2 separate regions of the Homo sapiens genome follow, and region 1 is linked to region 2. Evidence: promoter capture Hi-C in 16 types of primary human blood cells and fetal thymus (Javierre and others, 2016). All regions are on one chromosome and are shown on one strand. The core of a region is centred on a gene start or on the middle of the fragment in contact, and the rest is flanking DNA. Distances in the headings are between cores, read along the strand shown. Region 1 holds the start of KRT1 (keratin 1). Region 2 holds the start of KRT79 (keratin 79).

The links. The method cuts DNA at HindIII sites, captures the fragments that hold promoters and counts their contacts. A CHiCAGO score of 5 or more calls a contact.
Region 1: the fragment with the promoter of KRT1 here is called in contact with the fragment with the promoter of KRT79 in region 2 in 3 of 17 cell types (naive CD4 T cells, naive CD8 T cells and non-activated CD4 T cells); the score reaches 8.8 in naive CD4 T cells.

What each region holds. Positions count from the first base shown.
Region 1 is chr12:52,678,622-52,683,829 of GRCh38, forward strand. KRT1 (keratin 1) reads right to left here and starts at 1,786. Exons shown (of 9, transcript NM_006121.4): 1 at 1,137-1,786; 2 at 1-135. The coding sequence starts at 1,727. The HindIII fragment of the contact is 12,025 bases long and covers 1-2,326 here.
Region 2 is chr12:52,830,857-52,836,319 of GRCh38, forward strand. It overlaps KRT79 (keratin 79), which reads right to left and starts at 3,455. Exons shown (of 9, transcript NM_175834.3): 1 at 2,928-3,455; 2 at 550-770. The coding sequence starts at 3,404. The HindIII fragment of the contact is 16,661 bases long and covers 1-5,463 here.

The DNA.
Region 1 (5,208 bases), core at 536-3,035, 150 kb before region 2:
CACTCTCCTTCGGAGATTGTTGATGAATGACTCAAAGTAGGGCTCTAAATTATGGGTTCTAGTGGAGGTATCTACCTGCTGCAGCAGCTCCCATTTTGTTTGCAGTACCTGGTTCTGCTGCTCCAGGAACCTCACCTAAAAACACAAGACCCCTTTACTCCTGATGCATAAATGGAGTCTCATAGCCATGGAGAACTGTGCCTCATTTGGAAAAGAACCTCAATTCCTATCTTCTGACCATGACAGAGAAATAGGAAGAAGATGATCAAGTTAATATCATCTGCATAATAAAACCCAACTTGTTAATTCAGAGAGGGCTTGGAAGGGAGTAACTAAACAAATACCAATAGCAAAGCGCATACAGAATTATTGCAATTATGTTTTGAAATAGGTGCATGGTATTTAAGAGATTTGCCTTCCAAAATTTTGTTAGGTATATTACCATAAAAACTGGTTTGCATCCCCAGGACACACACACATTTCAAAAGTATATCAGGAAAATTCAAAATTGGATTTGAAATTTGTTGTGGATAACCTTGGATTGGCACTATTAATGATTAAGCAAAAAATTAAAAAAATGGTTTATCTGAGTTTTTTAGAGCTGATTTTTGGAGATATTAGTATAAAAAAACTCTAGCCTCATCCAGTACCAATGTAAAATTATTAGAAGGCAGAGCTCCCCTCTGACAGCAAAAGATGTTTGGCACTGACTGACCACATGTTTTCTGCTACAATAACACTCTATACTATGTTCACACTCAACTCCCTTTCTATGGTTAGGAAGACCTTTCCAGGGTTCTCACTTGCACCCTGGAAAGTTCAGTTAGCCCCATTTCTATTATCTTCATTCAACAGATATGAGTCCCAATTCCGCTCAAGAGCTGAATAAAAAGCACTTAAATGTTAATGTCACACTGACCCACCTTTAGGTCGACCACGAACCCTTTGTCAAAGAGAGAGTCATTAACACCATTCACAAGCATACATCTAACATATCTCCTAGGAGACCATTCCACAAAACATCCTTTTAATCATGTAAACATGGAAACTTGAGGTTCAAACCTACTGTGTTTTGACTGCACCAATCCCAAGTGGACCAGCGGCAGCCCTACCAGTGCAATGAGAGAGAAACTCACCTTGTCAATGAAGGAGGCAAATTGGTTGTTGAGTGACTTGATTTGCTCCCTTTCTCGAGACTTCACCTTTTGGATCTCAGGGTCAATCTCCACATTGAGGGGCTGAAGAAGGCTCTGGTTGATAGTGACTTCTTGTATGCCACCAGGAGGGCAGACAGGACCATAACCACCCCCATATCCACCACCCCCAAAGCCACCTCCACCAAAACCACCACCACCACTGCCAAAACCACCAAAGCCACCACCCCCAATGCCACCTCCACCAAAGCCACCACCACCAAAGCCACCACCACCAAAGCCACCACCACCATAACCACCACCAAAGCCACTACCACGTCCACCTCCTCTAGCCACACTTATGGAGATGCTTTTACTGCCACCAAGGTTAACAAGACTCCGACTTCCAAATCCACCACCAGCACCAAAGCTACCACCACCACCACCACAGCTTGAAAATCTCCCACCACCTCCTCCACTGCGGCGTGTGGAGCTGCTGGTGGTCCTGCGCTGGTAGTTGATGATCCCAGCAGAGCCAGAGCTGAAGCCCCCTCCACTTCGGTACCCAGACCTGGAACTAAACTGTCGACTCATGTTGACTTAGAGAAAAGTAGGAGCAAGGTAGAGTAAGGGAAGGAGCTAAACACTCCTCTACCCCAAGCATAGAGACTTCCCCTTATATACAGGGAAGAAATTGGGCTTGGTCTTCTAGAGTCAGCGGAGATGCAGTGCCTGTCAAGGGTTTGGCTTGCCTGCAGCCATACAAGATTTTTACGAGCCTCAACAATACGATAAACACTACACACCTAGCTCCCAGGATGGGCTCTCAAAATTGCTGTGCATGCAAGATTGGTTCATGTGGTAATTATTTTATCACACAAGATCTTCCTTCAAGCATTTGTGGCTTTGGGAAAACAGGACCCCACATCTGATACCTGGTGTTTCTTGGTAGGATTTCATAACCCCCATCAAAAAGGCATGAAAGTTTCTATTCTCACCTTGCCTTTGTGAGCTACCAAGCACACTCTCTTACCATGCACAGCAGGTGCAATTCCCCGTGCTTGGATCTCAGAAGGAGCTCTCTGGCCCATTTCTAAGATCTTCTTTCCAAACTCCAGAGCTCACTCAGTTACAACCTGACAAAGAGAAAGGGCTTTAATAACTAAAAAATTAAAAGGTCTTTCATAAATATAAGCTTTATAAATATACCACAGTGATTAATTAAAGGAAGAGAAGCTGTCATTGAACAAGATGGATGAGTGGGTGGTCTGGAAGAACCAGAAGGGAGAGACATTTTTTTTCTCTGTTTCTCAGTTATTCCTTTTCTTGTTTCTTTTCTTCAAAGATAGAGCAGGAGACAGACACCAGCAATAGAAAACAGGTAGCAATGGATAGCATGCAAACGCCCTTGAGTGAAAAAGCCCACAGAGCAGTGAGACGAGTAAATAGAAGCTCTAGGACATTTTGTAAAGCACAGGGGTGGAGGTGAGGCTTGATAGGTGATTCAAGCCTCACACTGGACTGCAAAGAGAGAGAGATAAATGCAGATTTGGAAGGGAAGACAATGAGAGGTGTCTGGAGAGCCTTATATGAGAAGTTTAAATTGTTTCTGGAGGTGATAATAATGATAATACCTAACATGTATCAAAAACTGACCATGTACCAGGCACTGTTCTACGTAGCACATATGTATTAACTTGCTTAATTTTCACAACTTTGAGATAGATGCTATTTTTCTCCCCATTTGTAAAATGAGGAAGCAGAGACACAGGGGTTGAATAACGTGATCAAGTCTACACAGTTGGTAAGTGGGGTGCCTGCGATTTGAAGCAAGAATACCTAGCTATCATGTGCAAGATCCTAAACAGCATGTTGTACGACAGCACAGCAGCCGAATTCAAGTCATTCTGCCTGCTGTGTGTAAAGCCAGACAGCACAGGAAGCGCCCCACCACAGAGAGCTCTGAGGGCAGAAGGCCTGTTTTATCACTCTGAGTCCTTGGCTCCTGGCACATGCAAGTCTTGGAAAATGTTTCTTCAATTCACACTGAGAAGGAGATTTTGGTGGCACAGAGTTTAGTGAGGAGATTTTACTTCCATCCAAGTGCAAGAGTACCCAGCATGCATTGCAATGGACCAGGAAACCTCAGGGGTCTTCCTGGAGAGCAGCACTTGATCAATATCAGTGGATAATAGTGGCACTGAGATCTGGACACACTAGAAGCCCAAGCAGACTTTCATTCGAAGACTTCTTAGAAGCCTGGCATGGTCCCCGGGCCTGCACATAAACACAGAATTGAAGACTCAAAGGGGAGAAGCCAGCTCTAACTTCAGCTGGCTCCAAGTAACTCTGTAAGTGGCAAACCATAGATGTACATGGGAAGTCTCCACTATGGTGTGCAAGATCTATGGGAGAAAGGGAGTCTGTGAAGATCATCTGGTCCCATTACTCTGTGGCTCTGAATCGGGCTGGCTGTGTCGGTCCTCTCCATTGCACTCCGCTATTGAACCTTGTCCCTCTTCTCCTCCCAGTTTTTGCCCTATACCCTCCTCCAGAAAGTGCCCCTCACCGCTCCCCTGCTACTCCTCTCCCTCGCCATCACTGTGGCACTGCTGTCTGGGACTCTGTCCTAGCACTAAAATCCTTCGGCTGCTAAACCAACCATCTCTTTAGGGAATGAGTAATTCAGGTCTTGTTAGGAACAATGGAGACTGGGACAGTCTTGGCATGGTAATGACTGTTGCCTAATCATTTTCTGACAAGCAATCAAAATTATTTTAGTTCAGCATACTCCCTCATGAGACATATTGTTCTGCACAATCGATTCCTTCTAGCATTTTGGAGGGGTGTGAGTATGTGTGTGCACACATGTTTGTGTGCACACATGTTTGTGTGCATGTGTGTGCCAGCCAAAAACAGACCTTGGCAGTGATCCACACTCCCATCTTTGAACTAAGAAACTGACATACAGAAAAATCAAAGGTTTGAATGAATGGTCAGGGAATTGGTAGACAACTTAGCTGCAAAACATACCCCAGGTGCTCCTGTGAGAAGGGAGAAATGCAGGACTAGCAGGAATAAGTGCCATAAACCTCACCATAGCTTACATTTGCACAGCTCACCCCACCAAACACATATGCAAAGAGCATCCCACAAGAGCCCTGAGAACTAGGCAATCAAGCTGTTCTCAACCCATTTCATGAAACAGAAAACTGATTCTCAGAGATTAAGTGGCTTCCTCTAGACACTCCGGCTAGGAAAAGACACATCTGGAAGCAGAATCTGGGTTTTCTGATTTCAATTCAAGTGACATTCCTCCCTGAACCGGGAAGAGGCTCAAAGACAGGCAAGTGGAACTGGGCCCTATAAACAAGTACACAGAGAATTACAGAATGTTCTCATCCATGGGGCCTCAAAGGTCACATCATCTAACCTGCCTCACAGAGAAGTGAGAGCACAGGCCCAAAAAAGTAAAAAAAAAAAAAAAAAAAAAAAAAAGTGTCCAAGTCATAAGTCAATTCCTGAGACTCTTCCAATTGTTGAATCAAACTCCTTTTCTTTTTCCACTGCCCACTTTCGAGGCAGCCCAACAGAGCTGGAGCTGCAGTGCTGCCAGACCAGGCCCGTCATCTCCTGTGATGTCCCCAGGATCAGTGTGGGTGTGTGGGATATGAAGAACCACATGCAGGAAAGGTGTGAGCCACACACTCTCTCCTGGCTTACTTATGTACTGTGCATTTATGAAATAAAGACAAAATGAGAAAGAAAGAGACACTAACATCTACAGGCAGCAACTATGCTGTTAGGAGCCACATTGCATTTAAATACCACACAAAGTCTGCGTCGTGGGAGCTCTTAGCCCCATTTTAAAGAAAAGGCATCTTAGGTTTATAGAGGTTGAAATATGTGCCCAAAGTCATCCAGCAGGTAACTGACAAGCCACGCTTGCCTCACTCCAGAGTCCAAGCCCGCCGCATCACATGGGCTCCTTCTGTCATTGGCCTGCTCTCACCACCAGCACCACCTACATCTTACCCTGCTCACCCACTCCCCCGGCCTCACGCCTTGACCCCTT
Region 2 (5,463 bases), core at 2,205-4,704:
AAACTGGCTGGATATTTAATGATATTGAGGAATTATTGTTTTAAAATTTTTTAGGTGTGATTATGCCACTGTATGTTTTACTGAGTCATAGATGAACTACATTCACATGCAGATATATGAATATAACTTGTAAAATATTAGTGAATGAAATGACAAGATGTCTGGGATTTGCTTCAAGACTACAAGGGAATCAGAACACGTAGAAAAAGGCAAAGGTAAAAAAAAAAGACTACACGGGAAGAAGGGAAGTGGGGAGGTGTAAAAAATGCAACAAGATTGGTTATGAGTTGATAATGATTAAAGCTGGGTGACAGGAACATGGGGTTCATTATACTATTCCCCCTACTTTAAAAACTTTTTTAAATTACAAACAAACCTGCCAATTCTCCAGGTGGCAGCAGGTGCTGGACCTGAGCACCTGAGGGAGCCAGCTCTGTCTGTGCATCCCCCAGGTGGGCCTGGGACCCTGGGAATGGGGTGGCCCTCTTGGCAGGTTTCCCACTGCCCCTCCTCACTCCCACATGGCCCCGCCTGGCCTGCTCTCCTCACTTGTTCTTGAAGTCCTCCACAAGGTCCTGCACGTTCCTGAGCTCTGAGTCCAGCCTCCCCCGCTCGCTCTGAAGTCTGTCCAGCGTGCTCCGCATGCTACCCAGGTAGGCCTCAAAGAGGGGCTCCAGGTTGTTCCTGGTGACACCCAAGTTCTGGCCCTGCTCCTGCAGCAGTGCCCACTTGGTCTCCAGCACCTTATTCTGTTGCTCCAGGAACCGCACCTGAGCCAGAGCAGAAAGGGTGGGCTGATGTCACCCTCCGGTCACCAGAGGAGCCAAGGATGGGGTCCATTGCCACCTCCCCTCCAAGGCCAGGGCAACATAGGGACGCTGCAGCCGCACCTACACTTTGCTGTGGGGAGGCACTCCTTAGGGGAATAGACTGCTGGAAACGACCGTCCAATCTGATGGAAAGAACTCTACCAAGTTAATAAGCACAAAAGCCCAGCTCAGTAGCAGTACCAATTTACTAGTTGGTAACCTTGGTCGAATCATTTCTCTCTGAGTCTCCCTCTCTCACTTGTCCTGCATAAACTGGACTAGATCTATGTTTCTGACCCCTAATTCTGCATTAAAATCATCTGTTTAAAATGTAAATCAACTGTTTAAAATCACACACTTTGGGAGCCTGAAGCTGGAGGAGTGCTTGAGCTCAGGAGTTCAAGACCAGCCTAGGCAACATAGCAAGACTGTCTCCACTAAAAATCAAGACAATTAGCCAGGTGTAGTGGCATGCACCAGTAGTCCCAGCTACTCAGGAGGCTGAAGTGGGAGGATCACTTGAGCCCAAGAGATGGAGGCTGCAGTGAGCTATGACTGTACCACTGCACTCCAGTCTGGGAAACAGAGCAAGACCCTGTCTCAAAAAATAATAATAATAAATTAAGAAAATTGGTGAACTGGGTGAAAGAGTATACAGGAGTATGTTGTACTATTCTTGCAACTTTTCTGTAAATTCAACATTTTTTCCCAAAAAAAACTTTTTTTAAAGTACCAATGTCTGAGCCCTTCCTCTATAGACTCAGAAGGAGGCTTACGGTGTGGGTTTAACAGGACCCCCGAGAGTTCTTGGCCCAGCTGGGGTTCCAAGACAATCTCTCAGACCTCCAGCTCCCAAGCTGTGATTCTGCAATCCTGAGAAAGGTTTTGGCTTGTTTGGCCTCTGGGACAGTCCCACAGGAAAACCAAAAGTCACTAGGGGAGAGGGTGAGGAGGCAGGCAAGACGGCTTGCTTCATATTCTGTCATCCAATATCTCCAGGTCCCATCTCCACACTACCTGGGCCTCAGTCACATGCCCTGGGAGCATCATGCAGCAGGTGTGCCTATTGTGAGCAGTAACAACTCTTAGTGCCAAGAACCACAGAGTCCAGGGGCCTGGGTCCCAGTCCCGCCTCTGCCTCCAACTCCTTGTATCATCCTGGGCAAATCACTTGAGCTCTCTAGACCTCAATTTTCTCATCTCAAAAATGGGCACAATATCACCATTTCTGAGTCTTCATAGAAGCACTGTGGGTACCTCAGGAGAAAAGGGATGTGCATGTTCTTCGGAAACACACAAATCACTGAACCAAGGTACATTTGTCTGCCAGACCTTCCCCATCATGACCCGCTGCCTTGGCTCAGGATCGAGGTGGACAATGCCAGCGAAACAGACCAGGAAATCCCAGCACAAGTGTTGCTCCCATCCATCTGGAGGCAAGGGCAAGGTTCAGGGCATGCCTATGGGCAACAGGTCAAATTCCACATTCCCAGAGCTTGGTGACCTGGTGACCACCCTCCTCATTGTCCACCCCAAATTGAGCTTCTTCACTCAGAGTGTAAAAAAAGGAGAAGCGGAAGGGAGCCTACCCCTAGGACCCCACCCACACACAACTGTGTTTTGATCACATCTTGCCCTTAAGCCTCCTCCAAGCCTGAAAGAATGGAACAAACAGGGCTCCATGCTCTTAGCCTTGAACAACTCTTTCAACTCCTGAGCATTGTTTCCCCAGCTGTAAAATGACAAAAGGCAATGCAGGCCACCCCACTAAGAGGAGCTATGAGGACAATCCATTTTTTGATGATGAGGTAAGGCTACTGTGCAATCAATCGTATTAATCATGGTGGTAGGACAGGCTTCAACACGGGCAAGGTGGACTTGGCAAACCGGACTCATGAGTAGACTGGAGACTCCCCCCGCACAGGCACGGTGAAGACCTGAAGGCCGCCTCCAGCCACCCACGTCTCGGCATCCCAGGCTCAGACCGGGAGAGCTCCAGAGCTCTATCAACCACCACCCTAGTACAAGTGGGCTACAGCAGCCCTGGCCCAGCCCACCCTCTATTAGAGGTCCCGCTTCTTCCCCAAGAGCTCCCTTCCTCCTTCCTGCTTGGCCCACCTTGTCGATGAAGGAGGCGAACTTGTTGTTGAGGGTCTTGATCTGCTCCCGCTCCTGAGTGCGCACTCGCTGGATCTCGGGGTCAATCTCCACATGGAGGGGGGTCAGCAGGCTCTGGTTGACAGTGACCTCCTGGATCCCCCCAGGAGGACAAGCAGGCCCAAACGTCTGCCTGCCAGCCCCCTGTCCCATAAATGCCCTGCTGCCAAAGCCAAAGCCCCCCAGAGCCCGCCCCAACAAGGCCCCTCCGGCCACACTGACAGAGATACTCTTGTGGCCCCCCAAGTTATAGAGGCTTCGGCTGCCAAAGCCACCTGTGCCGGGGCCACAGTGGGCCCCGCCACCACTGCCACTGCTCCGAGACACCGTCACTGAGCTGAAGCTGGTGCGGGCCTGGGACCCACTCCCTCCGCTGGCAGAGTTGGAGCTGAAGCCCCCTTTTGTGGAGTATGTTTGCCGAGAGACGGAGGACCTCATAGCTGCAGAGGGGCCGGAGGGCAGGATGAGAGGGCAGGAAGGGAGTGCCGTGAGCTGCTGGGCCACTGTGGGCTTTTTATCTTTTCCCAACTGGGCCGGCTCCCCAGCTCCACAGACACTCCTGCCCCATCGCCCCAAGGGGAGAGGGAGGGGTCCTTAGGGCCACGGGGAGTGCCCTCTCCCCAAGCAGGAGGGAGGGGCCCTCCCGGTTATCACCTGTGCTCCAGAGCTGGGGCTGAGCCGAGACTGTCTGGGGCAGGATGCCACCTTCTCCCCCTGCCCCCAGGCTCTCCTCGGTTGGCACAGGATGATACGGGCTCCCATGGCCACCCCCACCACCCAGTGGCTGGCTTGCTGTCCTCCCACCCAGCCCCAGAGGCCACTGTCAATAGGGCTCTGTTCTACGGGGTTTGTCCCAGGCCCCTGTTGTAAGCCAAGGCTGCAGGGCCTGGGGCTGTACAGGTGGTAGGAGAAGGAGCATTGGGCAATGGGCTGCCAGAGAGAGCATCCAGGCCTGCTCCCATCCCACCCCCAGCCAACGGCCCACCACTCCTCCCAGGTCCAGGGTGTGTGACACAGGTGACAGGGCGAGAGTGGGGATAGCCTGTGCCTCTGCCGTACAGTGGCAGAGCCTTCTGGGAAGTGAGCCTATGCTGGCAAAGTGAATTCAAGGACAGAAAGAGGATCCCTGCCCAATCGTGGGGCCCAGGCCCTTGATCAGGAGGTAGAAAAGGCCTGGGGTCCTCAGGCAGGGCCCAGAAGCCTGGGAGCAAAGGACATTCTTATGGAGGCTGAAGAGAGGGCAGGGGATTTAACCAATACCTGAGATCCCTGAGCCTCTACCCCACAGCAGAGTCCCCACAGAAAGGTTCAGCCACTTTGGAGGGAGCTGGAGGTGGGTCAAGGACACAGACCACCCTGGGTGGAGACAGGCACAGCTCCAAAAAGCAGGTGTTCCAAAAAAGCCCCAGGAGGCCCACGCAGCAGCCCCGTCACTCCCATCTTCCCCTGCCCCACATGCAGGAGCCCATGTTTCTGATTCAGAGGGGCCAGGGGAGCTCCTTAAATCACCTCATATGGTCCCCGCCGCCCACTTCCTATTCACCTCAGTCTGCTGGGACCAAACACAGCCCCAAGCAAAGACAGAGACGTCAACTGTCAGGGCCGAGGGGTGACTGAGGAGGTGACTTTAGACACTGGCCCTCCCCACCCCCTTCTCTCAGCAAGAAGATGGGCTCAAAGTGAACAGAGACTTGCCTGAAAAAAAGGAGCGAGGACAGCATCGCTGTGCTCCCCACCCCCATCAGATGAGCAGGACAACCAGCCAGGCTGTGTCCCCAGGATCCCAACAGAGAGGACATGGGACTGCCACGGAGAAGGCTTGGCCTCCCTCCCATGTTCCCCACAGCCCAGCAAGTGAAGAGACAGCCTGCTCCAGGACCAGAGGGAGCTGTGGGATCTTCTCCTAGGGCCCCTGGGAGGCTGTAAGTGGCTCCCCGTTGCTTGAAGAGGTTGAACCCAGCTCCCACAAGGAATGGGAGTGAGAGCACTTGCAGAACTAGTCCCTTAATAGCCAAGAGGAGATTTTGGAGTTAGGACACTGGGCATTTCAGGGAGCCAAGCCGAGACGTCTCCCACACTGAGCTGTGTGTCCTGGGGCAACTCGCAACTTCTCTGAGCCCCATTTTCTCTGCCTATAAGCAGGGCCCTCCGTGGAAGACCTTTCGAAAAGTGATCCCTGGATGAAGCCGCCCCTTCCCACTGACCTTCGTCTCCTTTCCCCAGGCTGAGATCACTTTCTCAGCCTCCCTTATCTCTCCCTGGGTGGCGTGGGAGGAGGAAACAGTCATGAGTGGGCCCTAGCCTCCAGGATGTGGCTGTGGGCCCCCTGGGCAAGGAAGTGTTGTCAGCCCTCTGAGTCACAGGGCAGCCAGGCTGGTGGGAGTGAGAGGCAGTCGATAAACACAAGTCTCACCTCACCCCAGACACGACACTCACGCCAGTCCCTTGCACACATTTACCAAGCACGCTCTCTGGGCCACGCTTTGTGCTGGGAGCT